Regions from separate parts of the Homo sapiens genome. Here region 2 is linked to region 1. Evidence: promoter capture Hi-C in 16 types of primary human blood cells and fetal thymus (Javierre and others, 2016). All regions are on one chromosome and are shown on one strand. The core of a region is centred on a gene start or on the middle of the fragment in contact, and the rest is flanking DNA. Distances in the headings are between cores, read along the strand shown. Region 1 holds the start of ZHX3 (zinc fingers and homeoboxes 3). Region 2 overlaps ZHX3 (zinc fingers and homeoboxes 3).

What was found. The method cuts DNA at HindIII sites, captures the fragments that hold promoters and counts their contacts. A CHiCAGO score of 5 or more calls a contact.
Region 2: a contact is called between a fragment that was not itself captured here and the fragment with the promoter of ZHX3 in region 1, in 9 of 17 cell types (activated CD4 T cells, erythroblasts, endothelial precursors and 6 more). The highest score is 8.2, in activated CD4 T cells.

What each region holds. Positions count from the first base shown.
Region 1 is chr20:41,316,284-41,318,983 of GRCh38, forward strand. It overlaps ZHX3 (zinc fingers and homeoboxes 3), which reads right to left and starts at 1,448. Exons shown (of 4, transcript NM_001384317.1): 1 at 1,226-1,448. RefSeq lists silencers at 968-1,257, 1,268-1,717 and an enhancer at 1,828-1,877. The HindIII fragment of the contact is 7,702 bases long and covers 1-2,700 here.
Region 2 is chr20:41,271,828-41,274,534 of GRCh38, forward strand. The region is part of intron 1 of ZHX3 (zinc fingers and homeoboxes 3); the gene reads right to left. Among named protein-coding and RNA genes, the nearest start is that of ZHX3, 45 kb to the right of the region's middle. The HindIII fragment of the contact is 2,148 bases long and covers 304-2,451 here.

The DNA.
Region 1 (2,700 bases), core at 198-2,697:
TTTTGCGCTTCTGGATTTTTCCACTGTATGTCTCTTAGAAACAAATTAAGCTCGAATAAGTTGTTCCAGCTAATGAAGTGCGCTTTTGGCTCCTTCTCCGTGGTTCAGAATTATCCGGCAAAATACCAATTGTTTTAGGATGCATTTTCTCTTAGTTTTGAAATATTGCAATACTAAGTTACCACAAATAAAGAGCATTGAGATAACAACACACAAGAACGTGTATAAATGGAAACTACTGTAATCCTTTTTTAAATTAAGGACGTGTGGACGCCTCATGAATAAACATTTAGGATATCTGGATAAATATATACTATGTGTTCACATAGATAAAAACAGAAAGGAGCATTCCTTCCTACCTCACTCCCCCACCCCAAGTCACATAAGTTTCTCGCAGGGCACAAGCCCAGGGCAATCACTGCTCAGAAATGTAAACCATGCAACTCAAAATGACTCAAGCCCTCAAACACTCCCCACCTAAGTCCTACATCCCATCCACTCCTCAATCACTTCCAACAGGCTTCCCTGAATGAAAATCCCAAACTGGGAAGGCTTAACAAGCTCCAAACTCCACTCACACGCCACTCAGGGAATCCGAGGACCTGGGGCCCACGTGTAGTGTTTTCGCGTGGGCAGACAAGGGTCCCAAGATTCAGGGTGCTACTGTACCCCGAGTGGTTCGAGTCCTGGCTCTGCCGCCTTCACTGGTCGAGCTGACGCTCTTTACACCGGGGGCATGGGCTGCCACATCCCAGCAGAGTGCAAGGGCCCTCGGGCGTGGACGCAGGCGGCTCTCGGGTGCACACGCGGAACGCACACTCGGGCATGCACTCTCACACGGTCAGGCGGGCCTGCGCGAACGCCCCCGCTTCCCCTCTACCACCCCCTTTTGCGCCTTCTACGATGGTGGCACGCGGGGCTACCCTGACCCCTAGGACCCCTGGACGCCCGCTCCTGGAGCCCGGGGGGTGATGACAGATGGCGGAGGGCGGGGCTCCGGGGGGAAGGGGCGGAGCCTCTCAGCATGGGGGTGCTGGCGGCTGACAGAAAGACCAGGGGCAGCCGGCGGGAGGGGGCTGACTGAGACTGCGGGCCGGCCGCGGGCCAGGCGTGGCGGGAAGGAGCTCGCGCAGACACAGGGTCTGACAGGCAGAGAGAGATACAGACACCGGGGACTGACAGCCGCGGGGGCACGCGGGGCCGGCTGGCCGTGGCGGGCGCTCACCTGGCAGCGGCGGCGGTGGCGGCGCCCGCGACCGGGCCGCTCTTCCCGCGCTGCGGGCCTCCCTCCCCGCGGCCGGGCGGGCGGCCGGCGCAGGCCCCGCAGAGGCGGCGGCGGCGGCGACGCCGGAGCCGCGGACTGCTGAGCGGCGGGGACGCAGCTGCACCAACCGACTCCGGGCCGCTCGGCTGGGCTCGGCCGCTCTCGGAGGCGCTCGGCTCTGCTCGGCCTTGCACGGCTCCCCTCGGCCTTGCTCGACTCGGCTGGGGGCGTGGCCCAGGCCCCCCAGTCCGCCCAGGTCGCCTCTGGCGGCCGCGGGGCGGGGCTTTCGAGCGGGTGCGAGCCCCCTGACGTCGCGGGGAGCGGACCTTGCCCCCGGCGCATGCGCCAGCACTCCTCCTCCCCCCTCCTCCCCGCCCCACCGTGTGGAGGCTGAAGAAGACGGGGAAGGAGGCGCTGGGGGCGGATGCTGCGGTCCCAGAGGTTCCTGGCTTTTGTACTCCATATCCTGCTCTTTCCAGAGGACCACTTAAAGAAGGTCACACCAGGTTACACTTTCAAAAGGATGTGTGTGTAGGCTGGCAGGGGCTCTCGCTCCTGTCTGCCCCCACTCCTCCAATTCCAGTGTTTCCCAACAAGCGTCGACTAGGAGTGGTCTTTTATCCAACCAAGGGTTCACTGCAATTTTTAATATTTTCTGTTTTCTTAAGAATAATAACAAAAAAACTAACTCTTGATCACTGTTTTAACATTGAGTCTTCAAGTACTTGAACTTTCAAACATCAGTCAGCCTCCTCGAGTCCACTAATACCGTCCTTTCTTCATAGCTGTTGTATAACCTGTAATGCCTGGGATGGGGTTGGGTTCTTTCCTGAATTCTCGTCACATGATCCAGGCACCTTTTTAGTTATGGAACCAAGTCTGCAGCAAATATGCTCAGAAAGTGGCTCCCACCTTTAGAATCCAGTGATTAGTAAACAGCAGGAGCTCTACGGTCTTGACACACCTGGATGGGAATCCCAGATCTGCATTAATCTAGCAGGTTAATAATTGTCTGAGTGACTTTGGACGTGTTAATCTCTCAACTGTAAAAGGGCAATGAAACATGAGTAAATCAGTAGAAATATTAAAAGGGTTAAATGACACCACATATAAAGATTTCTGCACAGTGCTTGGTGTTCAATAAGTAAGGCTGCCTTTAACTTCAAGTAACTTTAGAACCTTCAGATCCTGAAAACCAGGGAGCATATACACAAGTGTGAGCGATGTGTCCAAGTAAACAAGTCGATAGTCAAACACCCATACGTGGCACCTTAGCTTGCTCCTTTCACAACCTTCCCTACCTCAGTTCATGTCAACTCCATTCTTCTGATGACTCCAGACAAACCATTGGAGTCATCCTGGACTCCACTCTCCCTATCATATCCCACATGCAACCCATTAGAAAAGCCTGTCAGCTCTACCTTTAAAATACCCCT
Region 2 (2,707 bases), core at 128-2,627, 45 kb before region 1:
TACAATTTTCTTATTCCTGACACCAAGGTCACTGACAATAAAAAAAAAATTGAAATGATTTTAGAAAGTATTACAAAAATCTCTAGGAGTGTAGCTTACAAAATCACCAGAAAAACTTGACTGCAATTCCATAAGTATGTCTTAGATTCTTTTACAATTCCTTTAAATTTTCATAAAACCAAAAAATTATTCCATCTCCAAATAGTTATTTTAAACAAGCTTTTTCAAATTAAATGAAGGAAACAATATCAGACCAATGTGGTCTGATAAATTTTAAAACAACCCAGACCCACTCAAGGTAGAAGCTTTACCAGTTTCAACAAATAAAAATGAAAAAGTAAAACTATATTCTTTAATTGTTAGTTTAGGGAGAAACCTCCTTGGGATCATCTGTTTTCATGTTTTCCTGTCCAGAGCTGGAAAGAACTTCCCAATGTACAAAGCACATGGGTTCCAACAGTCACAAGGTAACTATGACAGCAAAGCCACAGTTATCTGTGAGATCACAGAAATTATATGATGTAATTTTAAAAATTGAAAATTCATATAACATTAACCATTTTTAAATGTACAATTCAGTGGCATTTAGCACATTCACAGTATCATGCAACCATCACATTTACCATTACCTTACATTACTGATGAAATATTTTCATCACCCCAAAATGAACCTTGTACTCATTAAGCAGTCACTTCTATTCCTCCTCCTCCTCCTCCTCCAACTCCTGACAACCACTAATATGCTTTATGTCTCCATAAAATTACCTCTTGTGGATATTCCCTAAAAATGCAATCAAACAATATGTGACCTTTTCGGTTGGCTTTCTTTCACTCTGCATAATGTTTCAAAGTTCATCTACATTGCAGCATGCATCAGTACTTCATTCCAATTTATGGCTGAAAAATATTCCACTGTATATAGATGCACATCTTGCTCATCCATTCATTCATTGATAGACATTTGGGTTGTTTCCATCTTTTGGCTATTGTGAATAGTGTTGCCATGAACATGAGTGTACAAGTATTTGTCTGATACTTGTTTTCAATTACTGGACATATAAACAGGAGTGGAATTGCTGGGTCATATGGTAATTCTATACGGAACTTTTTGAGGAACTACTACACTGTTTCCCACAGTGGCTTCAACATTTTACATTCCCACCAGCAAAGTACAAGGTTCTAATTTCTCCACATTCTCATCAATGCTTGTAATTTTGTTTTTGTTTTGTTTTTAAAGTATAGACATCTTAGTAGGTGTGAAATGGTATATCATTGTGGCTTTGATTTGCATTTCCTTAATGACCAATGACCCAGGAAATCTTTTCATATGTTTCTTGGCCATTTGCATATCTTTACAAAATGTCTATTCAAGTCCCTTGCCCATATTTTAATTGGGTTATCTTTTCTGTTGTTCAGTTGTTAAGAGTTTTTCGTTTTGTTTTGTTTGTTTTTTAACAGATTTGCAGATATCTCCTCCCATTCTGCAGGTTGCCTTTCCACTTACTTGATAGCATCCTTTGCTGCAAAATTTTAACATTTGATGCCATCCAATTTGTCTATTTTTTCTTTCGTTGCTTGTGCTTTTGGTGTGTTTCTAAGAATCCATTACCAAATCCAAGGTCATGAAGATTTACCCTTATGTTTTCTTCTAAGAGTTTATAGTCTTAACTCTTATAATTAGTTATTTGGTCCATTTTGAGTTAATTTTAATATGTGTGGGGTCCAACTTCATTCTTTTGCATGTAGATAACCAGTTGTACCTGCACCATTTGTTAAAGAGATTGTCCTTTCCCCAGTGAATCATCTTGGCACTGTTCTCAAAGGTCACAGATGTACAGGTTTATTTCTGGACTCTCAGTTTTATTCCACTGATCTATATGTCTATTCTTATGCTTATACCTATTTTGATTATTGTAGCTTTGTAGTATCTTTTGAAATTGGGAAGCATGAATACTCCAACTTTGTTTTTCTTTTTCAAGATTGTTTTGACTATTCAGGGTCCCTTGCAATTCTATATGAATTTTAGGATCAGCTTTCCTATTTCTGCAAAAATAGGTACTGGAATTTTGGTCAAGATTGCACTGAATCTTTACATCACTTTGAGTAGTATTGCCATCTTTAAGTATTCTAATCCATGGATGTCTTTCCATTCTATGATGTAATTTTAAGGTTATTTTAAAATGTCCTTGATAAGGTGATACACTAACTTCTTTAGCTGTCTGTATCGCTATGGTAATTTACTAATATCCTGGAGTATGTCACAAATATGAAGTTTATACTTGCCATTGGTAATCCAAAATTCATACTCCAGAGAATGAAGGTAAATTATGTAACGTCTGTTTTGTTTGCTTTGGGCTATGGAAAAGGTCAGAACTTAAGGATTTTCATTTTCCTGATTTATAATTAAGTTTCATTATCTTCAGTTCCCAGTAGAGGAACAGAGATGCACGAAGCTTATTTGTTCACTGATAAGAGTTAAGTTGTTTAACAGACTTCGCAGAACAGTATCAGGAACTCTTTTTCATGTAGTTCAAATCCCCCCAAATTGATTATGTCACATTAGCTACTTCGCCAAAGATTTTGCTCACAGAAGCTTGAGAGTCAGAGCTTAAAGTATCAACTGTAGTTGGACAGGGTGTCGGTTGGAGAGGAAGGGTTTTACAAGTCTTTAAAAATTTTTGGCTAAAGTCTGTGAGAGAACAATCAC